Regions from separate parts of the Homo sapiens genome. Here region 2 is linked to region 1. The links are contacts of gene promoters, found by promoter capture Hi-C in blood cells and fetal thymus (Javierre and others, 2016). All regions are on one chromosome and are shown on one strand. Each heading gives the region's core, a stretch centred on a gene start or on the middle of the fragment in contact. The rest is flanking DNA. Distances are from core to core; before and after follow the strand shown.

Region 1 (6,897 bases), core at 92-2,591:
GGAAATGAAGAGTCTGGAAGCCCTGCCCTAAGAGAAACAAATAAAGGAACTTCAAAGAGAAGGAAGTGAGGTACCCTGAGGAGAAGCTGGGATGTCTTAACAACTGCTTTGGGATTTTGAGCTTGCCCTTTTCACTGTGTAGAGTGTTCCTTGCCCTACTTTCCACCTGTTGAAGTTTTCCTCATTCTCCAAGGTCAGACTGAATACATCTACTGTGAAAAGTTTCTAGAACCTCTTGGGATCCATCTTCCTACTGGCAAACCCCCATAGCACTTGCTACTTATGTTGTAATACCAAGCAATAGTCAGACTTATCTAGGTCAAGTTAAGTAGGGGCTTGAACGCCACACTAAGGGGTTTAAGCTTTAAGCTTGTAGTCATGGGGAGCCACTATGCTTCTGAGGACAGGTGTGACTTACGACTGACGTTTAGGAAGGTATCAAAGGCAGACTGAGAAGCTCTTTCAGGTGTGAAAGGGGGTGGAATTACTCTCTCTCTGTTCTTTTTTGTTGTTTTTGTTTTTGTTAGCACATGACTATGGGCTAGGCATTCCGCTTGGTTATCCCGCTTCATAGACGTGAGCCCGGTTACTCCGACACACCGTGGCCCCAGGCAGCCTCCCCGTCCTCACCACCTTTTCTTCTGTCATCTGAGGGTAATTCCTCCCCTGCAGTCGTGCTTTCCGGGCTCAGCAATGACCTGCTACCTGCCACGTCTAGGGATCTGTCCCCTCAGTCCTCACGCTCACGCTTTCTGAGTCCATAACCTCCTTCCTGAAACGTTTTCTTCTCACTTCTCCCAAACTGACTGCATTCCCCCTCCGGTAGTTTGAAATTTGGAAGACTTTTTTTTTTTTTTTTTTTTTTTACCGCAGACGCTTAAAACGAAGCTTAATTAGTCAAGGACAGCTATGGGTGGAGACTTGAAGAGATCTGAAGGGTATCTTGGAGCGCTTTAGACTTGAGAGGCCGGTGACAATAGCTCTAAAGAGACCCGTCAAAGCCTGCGGATTCTTCTTTTAACAGCTCTATTCTCATGCATGCACGCCAGGGCTGGGGGGAACTTTTGTTGTTTGTTTGTAATAGAAATCGAGAAAGGGAGTGGGGCCCGCCTCTTTTCTGACCTAAGGGCAGGAGTGAGGGGCCGGGAGGATTACGGGCGGCTCCCCCTAGACGCGCCCCCAGGCGAGCTGGAGACTGGGGCACTCCTTGCTTGGTAGAGGGGCGGGGCGCGCCTAGCGGCCACGCGCGCGGGCGTCGGAGGGGGCGTGTCTCGCGGGCGCGCGCGGGCGTCGGAGGGGGCGTGTCCCGCGGGCGGTGGCGGCGGCGGCGGCGCGGACTGGGTGCGCGGCGCAGCGTCCTGTGTTGGAATGTGCGGCTGCCGCGAGCTCGCGGCGCAGCAGCGGAGCGAGCGCCGCCGAGGCCCGGGGCCCCAGACCCTGGCGGCGGCTGCCGCAGCCGAGACGGCAGGGCGAGGCCCGGAGGCCTGAGCACCCTCTGCAGCCCCACTCCTGGGCCTTCTTGGTCCACGACGGCCCCAGCACCCAACTTTACCACCCTCCCCCACCTCTCCCCCGAAACTCCAGCAACAAAGAAAAGTAGTCGGAGAAGGAGCGGCGACTCAGGGTCGCCCGCCCCTCCTCACCGAGGAAGGCCGGTAAGTGGGGCGCTGGGCTGGGGGCTCGGTCAGGGTGGGGGAGGGCCGCCCGGGCGGCGGCAGTGGCGGGACGGGGAGGGCGCGGAAGGACGCGGAGTCAGGCGCTGTCCAGGGCTGATTTGCAGATACTGTGGCTCCGGCGGCGGCGGCCCCGCCGGGCGGGGGCTGGCGGCCGAGCAGGATCGGGTTACACAGCAGCCGCCCGGGGGCTGGGGGCGTTTGTTGGGAGCAGCGCGTCGCCTGGACCCCCTCCCCACTGGAGGCTGGGACGCCGCCTCCGCGCTGGCCCGGACGCTCCACCGAGTCAGGTCCTTTGAGGCCAAGGAGCGGAGCTGCTCGGGCCCGTAGTCCTGAAACTTCCTCTGCTTCCTCCTCCTGCCCCCGGGTCCCACCGCAGCCCCGCGCCGGCCCGCGGCCCTCCTGGCCCCCTCCCCCAGGGCCTCTCCCTGTCGCCGGAAGGCGCCGTTGAGTGCGGCCGGGCGGGTTGAGTCAGCCCCGGGGCCCGGGCGGTTCCGCCTGCGGGGCTGGACAGCGATTTCTGCGCTTCAGCCGTCCGGCGCCGCTGGCCCCCGCGTCCGGCCACCCGACCGCTGGAGCTGGCGGGGCTGGGGCGCGCGTCCTGCCGGGCGCCGTGGGGGAGTGAAGTTCGCAAACTTCCGGGGCGCGGGGGTGGCGGCTGGCCCGTGTGGGGGCCCCCTCCGGCGCTCGGAGCCCGACGCCTCGCGAGGGCGCCCGCGGAGCCTCCCCGGCCCTGGGCGTTGGGCGAGCCCCGGGGCGGTCGGAGGGGCCCGGGGGCGGTCGGAGAAGCCCGGACGCCGGCTGCGCGGTAACTTTCCGTCCTCTCCCGGGACGGGGGCCCTAGGGCTGGGGAGGGGGCTGCCTGGACTCGGGGAGGACTGGTTCCGGCCAAACAGCGCCTCGAGCTTGATCCCCTCCCCCGTTTTAGTGTTGGAGAGCGCAGGAAAAGGCTCAGGACGAGTGTCGGGGCGACTCCCGCGAGTTGGTGTGTAAATGTGTGCAGTGAGCGGGCCGAGGCGAGAGGAAGCGAGAGCGCCCGAGTTTGCAAAGAGCTGCTTTGTGTTTGGTATTTTGAGAAAATGGCCGAATGCCTATTTCAGTTAGGAATGCCGCCGCCGAGGCAGGCGCTGGTGGCAGCAGCACGGAGGAATTCGTGCAGCACGTTGGGCTTTCGGGCTGTGCCTGGACGGTCTTCCTAACAATCGTTAAAATTCCATTTGGGGTGGCAGTTAGGGGTTAGGGAGCAATTAGAAAAGTCGATGTTGGGCCAAATTACCCAATAGCTTGGGCTGTTCAGCCCCGGGACAGCCTTCGCCCTCTGTTTTCTGTGATGGCATTTGCTTCCAACTTTTGTTGGTACGTAGAACTAAACCGGTTTGTGTTTATACACTTGGGTGAAGCGGGTTACTTTTTGTATTTTCGGTTTAACTTTATTTTCTTAGAACTTCTTACTTTTTTTAATTTGCGAGTGAACACTTCGTTTGAGAATGGCACCTTTTAGATTGAGAAGTAACGTAGCATCTAGAAAGCCCAACTTGTTTTGAAGAAGGTGATCTTGTAATGGCTTCCACTAGGCAAGTAGGCCAAGTCAAGCACAATGCAAGAAAGTTGCTGATTGTCGAGTTGAGTTGCACGATGATTTTATTCGTATTGAAAAGCTTGGAATTCAGTGTTGTGGAACTTCAGCCTGCAGAAAAATAAGCTTATTAATTTTTATTTGTGAAGTTTTGAATAAATCAAACTTCCTTTTTCACAAGAAAAGGGGTCCATAAATGTTTTTTCTTTTAAGCCTGTGGAGTTGTCGAAAAATTAAGGGGCTGACTGCTACTTTTTCACAGTAGTTTATTCTTTTGGAGTTAGTTGAGTTCATGCGAAATCCAATTAAGTTGAACAATTATTACAGGCTTGTACTTTCCAGATGTGTTTGTGTACTTAATAAATGCACTGAATGGCTTGTGGATTTCTGGGCTTTCTGATTCAGACCATTGAACTGTTGAAGGGGGGAAAAGTTGGGAGGACAATAATTTACTACTCATGTTTTGAATTTTTAAAATAATTTTAACAGTAAAAATGAAGGTTACTTTTTATCCCCACCAGAACAATTAAAAGTGCTTGAGGAGGCACCACATGCCAGTGGCTGAATGATGAATGAGTTGTGCAAACAATTGGTAGAATTGTTTTATAGGGATAGTAGAAATTTTTTTTTGGTGATTGCAGTAGACTATTGGGAATTAACAACTATTTTAAAGATTTGTTTTTAATAGGCGATGAAGTTTACTGAGTTATAAAGATCATACTGGAAAATTTTTAAGTTATGAAGAATTACAGCGATGTGGTTTTAAGCCAGTAACAGTAGTGTTTAAACTGGTGCTCTTGTTTTGTTTTGTTTTTAATTCAGAATACAGTTATGGCCACCCAGGTAATGGGGCAGTCTTCTGGAGGAGGAGGGCTGTTTACCAGCAGTGGCAACATTGGAATGGCCCTGCCTAACGACATGTATGACTTGCATGACCTTTCCAAAGCTGAACTGGCCGCACCTCAGCTTATTATGCTGGCAAATGTGGCCTTAACTGGGGAAGTAAATGGCAGCTGCTGTGATTACCTGGTCGGTGAAGAAAGACAGATGGCAGAACTGATGCCGGTTGGGGATAACAACTTTTCAGATAGTGAAGAAGGAGAAGGACTTGAAGAGTCTGCTGATATAAAAGGTGAACCTCATGGACTGGAAAACATGGAACTGAGAAGTTTGGAACTCAGCGTCGTAGAACCTCAGCCTGTATTTGAGGCATCAGGTGCTCCAGATATTTACAGTTCAAATAAAGATCTTCCCCCTGAAACACCTGGAGCGGAGGACAAAGGCAAGAGCTCGAAGACCAAACCCTTTCGCTGTAAGCCATGCCAATATGAAGCAGAATCTGAAGAACAGTTTGTGCATCACATCAGAGTTCACAGTGCTAAGAAATTTTTTGTGGAAGAGAGTGCAGAGAAGCAGGCAAAAGCCAGGGAATCTGGCTCTTCCACTGCAGAAGAGGGAGATTTCTCCAAGGGCCCCATTCGCTGTGACCGCTGCGGCTACAATACTAATCGATATGATCACTATACAGCACACCTGAAACACCACACCAGAGCTGGGGATAATGAGCGAGTCTACAAGTGTATCATTTGCACATACACAACAGTGAGCGAGTATCACTGGAGGAAACATTTAAGAAACCATTTTCCAAGGAAAGTATACACATGTGGAAAATGCAACTATTTTTCAGACAGAAAAAACAATTATGTTCAGCATGTTAGAACTCATACAGGTAAGAGAAGCTTTCTAGTCCATAAGTTCAGTTCTCTTTTCTGATTGTTACTTGAGTGGTTAGTTAAGTAGTGCTTGAGAAAAAGGACTCTGGTTCAAATCCAGGTTCCATTTTGCTATCTTTGTGACCTTGCACAAGTTGTTTAACCTCTTTGTTCAGAAATTTCTCCATGGAGTAACAATATCTAGGTTGGGAGGATTATGTGAAGTTACATGTAAAGCACAGAGGAACAGCCAAGAGATCTTACCGTGGTCTTACTAAAGTACATATCCTAACTTGGGGTTTACCTTCAGCAAGTTAGACTGGCCGTGCATGGTGGCTCACGCCTGTAATCCCAGCACCTCGGGAGGCCGAGGCGTAAGGACTGCCTGAGCCCAGAAGTTCTAGACCAGTCTGGGAAACGTGGAAAGACCCCCGTCTCAAAAAGAAAACAGAAAAAAAAAAGTTTGTGTATTTATTTCTGTGACAGTGAACACATTTAAGATGCAGTGTAGTTTCTGAAAGAAATTGAGGGCTTATATAAAAAGGAAAACTCAGTGATTAACCTTGCACATGCCCACTTAACAAAAGCCTCAAACTTTAAAACATTTGACTTATAGCATTGAGTTCCTAAATGGAACAACTTGTCTTTGTCCACAAAAAAGAAATGTGAGAAGGTAGTTTTTAAAAGGTGGGTGGGATTATCACCAATTGAAACTATTTTCCTATGAAAGCAAACACTTGTAGAAAATGTATTTTTCAGACAATTATGTTTAGGGTGTTTGAACTGATACTAAGCGCAACTGTATAAAAAAAGTTGAAACTTTTTTTTTTTTTTTTTTTTTGAGACAGTCTGGCTTTGTCGCCCAGGCTGGAGTGCAGTGGCAAGATCTCAGCTCAGTGTAACCTCTGCCTCAGGGTTCAAGTGATTATCTTGCTTCAGCCTCCCTGGCTCAGCCTCCCGAGTAGCTGGGATTACAGGCACCCACCACCGTGCCTGGCTAATTTTTTTTTTTTGAGACGGAGTCTGGCTCTGTTGTCGAGGCTGGAGTGCAGTGGCATGGTCTTGGCTCACTGCAACCTCTGTCTCCCAGGTTCAAGCAGTTCTCCTGCCTCAGCCTCCTGAGTGGCTGGGACTATAGGTGCCCACCACCACACCCAGCTGATTTTGTATTTTTAGTAGAGATGGGGTTTCACCATGTTGCCCAGGCTGGTCTTGAACTCCTGACCTCGTGATCCGCCCACCTCAGCCTCCCAGAATGCTGGGATTACAGGCGTGAGTGCCACCCCTGGCTAATTTTTGTATTTTTAGTAGAGATGGGGTTTTGCCATATTGGCCAGGCTGGTCTCAAACTCCTGACCTCAGGTGATCTACCCACTTTGGCCTCCTAAATTGCTGGGATTATAGGGGTGGGCTACCGCACCCAGCCGAAACTTTTTTTTTTTTTTTAATTTCTTTTTGTGGAGATGGGGGGTCTCACTATGTTGCCCAGGCTGGTCTTGAACACCTGGCCTCAAGTGATCCTCCTGCCACAGTCTTCCCAAGTGTTGGGATTATAGGCGTGAGCCACTGTGCATACTAGTCATTCACTTTTAAATTGGGTTTTATTCAGCTGCTGTTCACTGTAGTTTTTTTAATTGGATTTATTTATTCATTTATTGATTTATTTGAGATGGAGTCTCACCCTGGAGCCCAGGCAGTGGTGTGATCACAGCTCACCACAGCCTCTACCTCCTGGGTTCAGGCAGTCCTCCCATCTCAACCTCCAAAGTAACTGGGACTACAGATGTGCCCTACCACACCCTAATTTTTTAAAATTTAAATTGGGTTTTAAATATTGTAATTGAGGGGCCTCATTTTTCAAATAAATGTTTTTAACTATTGGTAGCTCATTTGGACATTTCTGTTACATTTTCTTGGTAAGAATTGGTACATTTGG
Region 2 (6,086 bases), core at 3,237-5,736, 4.2 Mb before region 1:
TCAAAATTTCTTCTGTGTGAAACCATTTTTCACCTATTCTGTGTAAGAATACCTTATCTATATCAACTGACATGAATTACTAATGCTTTTTTATTAAAGTGTTTGAGCAAAACCATCATTTGACTGGACCATGATGTACTTGAGGCTATTCGTGGGCTCACGAATATTCAAGTAATTCAAGCTTTCCTTTATTGAATGCTGTAGAGCTGAAACATAGCATATGAAGGTCAAAACTCAGTCACTTGAAAAGATTGTATATATTGTTTACTTGTTAATACCCTTTGAAACTTCTCAAACTATAGAATCTCATTCTCATGATGAAAGGATCAGACTGAACCCTATTTGCCCTTTATTCTAAATCCTAGAGATGAACAGTTTATATATAAAAATCCATTTAAAAGTGAAATTTAGATTATTTAAAGAACAAAGTATCGTGAGATTCTGAACATAATCAGGTCCTCACGTTTTGGTGGGTGGGAAGAGTGAAAGAGAACAGTGTGTGTGTGTGTGTGTGTGTGTGTGTATATATATATATATATATTTTTTTTTTTTTTTTTTTTTTTTTTTTTTGAGGTGGAGTCTTGCTCTGTCTCCCAGGCTAGAGTGCAGTGGCATGATCTCGATTCACTGCAAGCTCCGCCTCCCAGGTTCACGCCATTGTCCTGCCTCAGCCTCTAGAGTAGCTGGGACTACAGGCGCCCACCACCACGCCTGGCTAATTTTTTGTATTTTTAGTAGTGACAGGGTTTCACCGTGTTAGCCAGGATGGTCTCAATCTCCTGACCTCGTGATCCGCCCGCCTTGGCCTCCCAAAGTGCTGGGATTACAGGTGTGAGCCACCACACCCTGCGAGAACAGTATATTTTTATTTAATGCTTAAACTGCCCACAATTCTTCATTGCTTTTTCTTTCTTAATCGAATCCCTGTTTCCAACATCTGAGCTCCATCTTCCACTCCCAAAAGAAGTTTCATTATTACAAGTTAAATATTTCTGCCCAAGTATGGCCAGTCTCAGACTACTTTTGAGATGTGTCCGTACAGAATAACAATTGCTAGCTCCCTGTTGAAGGTTTAACTGCTTACCCTGCAGGTAACCTGATGAGCTCACTTTGAAGAAATAAGGTAGAAATTCTCCTACAGTTAGTTCCTTACTGTGAGATAACAGTTTGTTCCTCCTAATAAACTGGTTCCATCCTCTTCTTTTGGTCATATCCAGCTCTACAAGTTTCACGCTGTTTAAGTCATGAACCTACAAAAGCCTGTGAAAAAATCTTTGAAGATGCTCAGCTTGTTTCAGTCTGAAATTTCTCCAAGACCAATGAACAAAACAGGATCATGCCCTGAATACACACCCAAGCTGCAGGCTCCTGCTTAGCCCTATTTTGGTTTGGCCTCCATGAGATCTTCAGCCACAATAGCAGGAGATAAAAATCTTCCTAGAAGCTTTCATCAGCTGCAAGTTTTCTTACAGAATGAAACTTTTCTGCTATTTTTCTCATAGTTAATTGGCTATTTGAGAAAACCGAATTTCTGGCTCTCAGCATTTAATTGGATTCTGTGGGTGACTGGATGACCGCTTTGCACATCACCATGGGTATCATCCTTACCTTCTTTAAACCTTTTGTGCCAGTCAAAAATTCTTGCTCTTGATATGTCATCACCGGAAACTACTTTTTTTTTTTGTTTCTCTTTTGTGACAGGGTCTTCCTCTGTCACCCAGGCTGGATGGAGTATAGTGGAACAATCATAGTTCACTGCGGCCTTGGTACCCTAGGCTCAAGCGATCCTCCCACCTCAGCCTCCTGAGTAGGTGGGACCACAGGTGTGTACCACCAGACCTGGCTAATTTTGTTATTGTTGTTTTTTATAGAGGTGGGGGGGTCTCCCTATGTTGCCCAGGCCTGTCTTGAACTCACGGGCTCAAGTGATCCTCCTGCCTCAGCCTCCCAAAGTTCTGGGATTACAGGGGTGAGCCACTGGACCCAGCCAGAAACTACTTTTAACAGTTCTAATTGCCACTTGTCTTGGCTGTATATTCAGAAATAGCCAGATTGGAATTATGGTTTTTTGATTGCTATTGATAGGGAGGTTCAAATGCAATATACCAAAATAGTCTATTTCAGGTGTCTCACTGACATATTTAACTTTACACAAAATTTAATATGAATTCTTTGCTCTAACAGTCAACAATTTTTAGGTCAACAAAAGAATAACTCTATTCACATCTAAGAAAGTTAGTTGGCAACCTTAAAAGCTCTGTTGTAGCCAGCTGAAACATAACCTATTCCAGCAATTTCACAAACTACACAAAGAAAAATTGGTAAATATTTCAACAGATGAGTACAAATAATCTTTGGAGAAGCTGATAAAGATTTCAGTGCTATATCATCTTAGCCTGCTATTTTCCCACCTACAAAAGGGTCGAAAATAAATCAGCTTTTTCTTGTCCAATTAATAGGAAAATGATATATGAAATACTTTAATTATTAGTCGGCACTGTCCCACCCCGAAAGAACCTAAGACTTAAAAATACATCCTAATAACATGTATATTGCCACTTGGCTGTACACTGAAGACTCAGGTATCTACAGTATTTTGTATTCTCTTCCCGATTGCACGATTTTTTCAGTGCTTTGCTTTCAGGGAAAACAGACTCAGGCTGGTCTTTCTTATGGTATTAAGTACAGGCTACTTTAAGATAATTTTGTGGTGTTTGCTAAATTCAAGAAATCAATACAGGCCGGGCGTGGTAGCTCACACCTGTAATCCCAGCACTTTGGGAGGCCGATTCCGGCGGATCACCTGAGGTCAGGAGTTCAAGACCAGCCTGGCCAACATGGTGAAACCCCGTCTCTACAAAATATACAAAAATTAGCCGGGCGTGGTGGCTGGCGCCTGTAATCCCAGCTACTTGGGAGGCTGAGGTGGGATGATCGCTTGAACTCGGGAGGTAGAGGTTGCAGTGAGCCGAGATCGCGCCACTGCACTCCAGCCTGGGCGACAGAGCGACACCGTCTTAAAAAAAAAAAAAAGAATTCAATACATAGTGTCATGTGCCTTTACTGGGGGAATCTCCTTTACCTTTTGGGGAGGCTGATAGGGCTGCTTAAAATATTTGTATTAGGCACTGGAAGATGTAAACGGGACCTTATCCTATTTAAACTCTCTTTAAATTAGCTAGAAATGGGCTGGGAACAACAGGAACCCACCATTTAACTACGGCGGCTAATCCCCCAAGTATGGTAACATACTGTACTGCACCCCCTAAAAGTGTGTTACCAACAGGACCACAAACAAGTTTGCCCACTGTTTTTAATGCAAATGTTCCTTTCAAGATCGCAAACCCTTCAATACACAGGGCCTAATCCAGTCGCGCTTTACTACTACGGGTTACTCCCGCCAACTGGCAGGGGAGCCGCCCCGGGCCCCGCGGAAAAGGCAGGTGCGCGTGAGGGAAAGCATGAGAGCCCGGGCCGCGCCCACCTCGGCCCCAGGCACTACGGGTCCTGCGGGTCCCGCGGGTCCCGGATTCGAGGCGAAGCGGCCCAGAGCCTGCGGCTGCTCAGACCTCCTCACCGCGCCCACCTCCCAGCCACCTCCTGGCTCCAGGTCCAGAGCAGGAGCAGGACTACCGGGGTCCCTGGCACACAAGGAGCAGAAATACCTTGAGGGGCGGGACCAAGTAGCCCAGCGCTGGAGGAAGACCCGCACCCTCGCGGGAGTTCTGAGAGCCTTAGCAGGCCGCGACAACACTGGGAGACGTGTCTGCCAATCACCGGATGGGGGCGGTCCTGGGGGGGGGGTCATGCAATTGGCTAAGCACGGAGAAGCTCTCGTTCCATTGGCCATTTTTCCGGCCTCAAGCCCACCCCTAGGCCTGAATCCCCGTCGCGTTCCGCCGGTCTGCTTCTCGGCCGAAAGGCTGGGGAGGAGGAGAGGAAACGCCTGGGTTAGTTTTGGTTCCTTCTGCTGGCGCTCAGGCTGCTGGAAGAGTCCTAGACCTTCACCCGTGGTCCCTTGGGCCCGTTTCACGCCCACGTTCTGACATGTCCTGTGGTATTCTGTACCTCTGCCTTCTACCCTGTGTCCCACGCTGATCCATCCTAGGCAGGGAGAAGGCAGCGTCGCAGGGACAATGCCAAAATCAAGATATTTCTCTTAGAGCTTTCTAATATTAATACCTTATGTCTAGGTATGGTATACAATAAGCATATATATATTTTATAAATCTAAAACCACTCCCCCTCATTAAATCATCAAACTAGTCCCAATGAAGTAGGTACTGTTATTCCTTATTTTTCAAGCAAGGAAACATGAGCAGGAGGATTTAGTGATCGGCTCACGTCCTGTCATGTTTACTTCCTAAATATCAGCTGTATCCTGTCCTCATTCCTATTCCCTTGCTCTAATTCAGACCTTCATAATTGCTTGCCTGGATTAGTTCTACAAATAGCTCCCAACTCCTTTCCCGGTCATCCTCCAAAGCCAAAGATTAATCTTCCTAATGCAAATCTGATTGTGTCTCTTAAACCCTTCTCAAGCCTCTCAAATGTCAACTCCTTCTGTGGCACCTCATTGCCTGTAGGTTCTGGCAGAGACTGCTTTTTATTGAAATATAACATGACCACAGATGAGTACACAAAAATGCACATTCGGCTGAAATTTCACAAACTAATCACAGTCCTGCCACCAACAACTAATTTAAGAAACAGAACATGGCGGGGCGTGGTGGTTCATGCCTGTAATCCCAGCACTTTGGGAGGCCGAGGTGGGCAGATCGCTTGAGGTCAGGAGTTTGAGACCAGCCTGGCCTACATGGTGAAACCCTGTCTCTACTAAAAATACAAAAATTAGCTGGGTGTGGTGGCACACGTCTGTAATCCTAGCTACTCCGGAGGCTGAGGCAGGGGAATCGCTTGAACCCGGGAGGTGGAGGTTGCAGTGAGCGAGATCATGCCACTGCACTCCAGCCTGGGTGACAGAGCTATACTACATTAAAAAAAAGAAAAAAAGAAATAGAAAGAAAGAGAGAGAGAAAGGGAAGGAAGAAAGGGAGGGAAGGAAGGAAGGAAGGGAGGGAGGGAGGGAGGGACGGAGGGAGGGGAAAGAAACGAAGAGAAAGAAAGGAAAGAAAAGAAGGGAAAGAAAGGAAAGAAAGAAAGAAACAGTACACCAGAAGTATTTCCTTCCGGTAGCTAACCACTCCTTTTCACCCAAAGGTAACCGCTAGCCTGACTTCTAACAGCATAGAGCAGTATCCTTGTGTTTGTGCATTATATACATGTGATTTTTTGTGTCTGGTTTCTTTAACTCACTATGATGGTCATGAGGTTCATCCATATTTTGAGTATAGTCACAGTTTGCTCATGAGAATGCTGCAGTGCAGTCCATTTTGTGAATATACCACAATTTATGTATTCAACCAATTGTTGATAGGCATTGGAGTAGTCTACATTTTGGAACTATTAAAAATATTGCTGCTATGAACATTGTAATAAACGTCTTCTGATGAACATGATAAAAGATGATTGCATTTCTGTTCGGTGTATACCTACAAATGGAATTATTGGATCATAGGTTATATACCATGTTCAAATTTAGTAGATATTAAATATTTTAAAACAGTTTTTCAAAGTGTTTGAGCCAATTTACACTTATCAGCAACATATGAGTATTCCAGTTGTTCCACATTCTCATCAACACTTGGTATTTTCCATCTTTTTTCATTTTAGCCATTTTGGTGGGTGATAATTGTGCTTCAGGTGATTTTGATTTGCAGCTCCCTGATGATTAATGAAGTTGAGCACCTTTTCATCTCTTTATTGGCTATTAAGAAATAACTTCATGAAGTGTCTGTTAAAATCTGTGCCCATTTTTAGTGTCTTTTAAATTTGTATTTTCCTAACATTTGATTATGAAAAATTTCAAATATTTAGCAAAGTTTAAAGAGTTTTACAATAGCGTCTGTAAACTTACCACATAGATTATTCTACCATTAACATTATATAACACTCACTTTAGGATATTTCTACATTTACCTGTATCTATCTTAATGTTGTTGCATTTCAAAGTAAATTGCAAACAG

Evidence for each region. Contacts are between HindIII fragments. The CHiCAGO score rates a contact against its expected background, and 5 or more counts as called.
Region 2: a contact is called between a fragment that was not itself captured here and the fragment with the promoter of REST in region 1, in 1 of 17 cell types (activated CD4 T cells). The highest score is 5.1, in activated CD4 T cells.

Annotation. Positions count from the first base shown.
Region 1 is chr4:56,906,559-56,913,455 of GRCh38, forward strand. REST (RE1 silencing transcription factor) reads left to right here and starts at 1,342. Exons shown (of 4, transcript NM_005612.5): 1 at 1,342-1,655; 2 at 4,072-4,978. The coding sequence starts at 4,081. RefSeq lists enhancers at 799-1,728, 2,659-3,588 and silencers at 825-1,119, 1,219-1,608, 1,719-2,568. The HindIII fragment of the contact is 2,443 bases long and covers 887-3,329 here.
Region 2 is chr4:52,718,651-52,724,736 of GRCh38, forward strand. DANCR (differentiation antagonizing non-protein coding RNA) reads left to right here. Exons shown (of 5, transcript NR_145129.1): 5 at 1,218-2,047. Among named protein-coding and RNA genes, the nearest start is that of SNORA26, 8.4 kb to the left of the region's middle. RefSeq lists silencers at 3,343-3,482, 3,663-3,712 and an enhancer at 3,873-4,172. The HindIII fragment of the contact is 6,089 bases long and covers 1,443-6,086 here.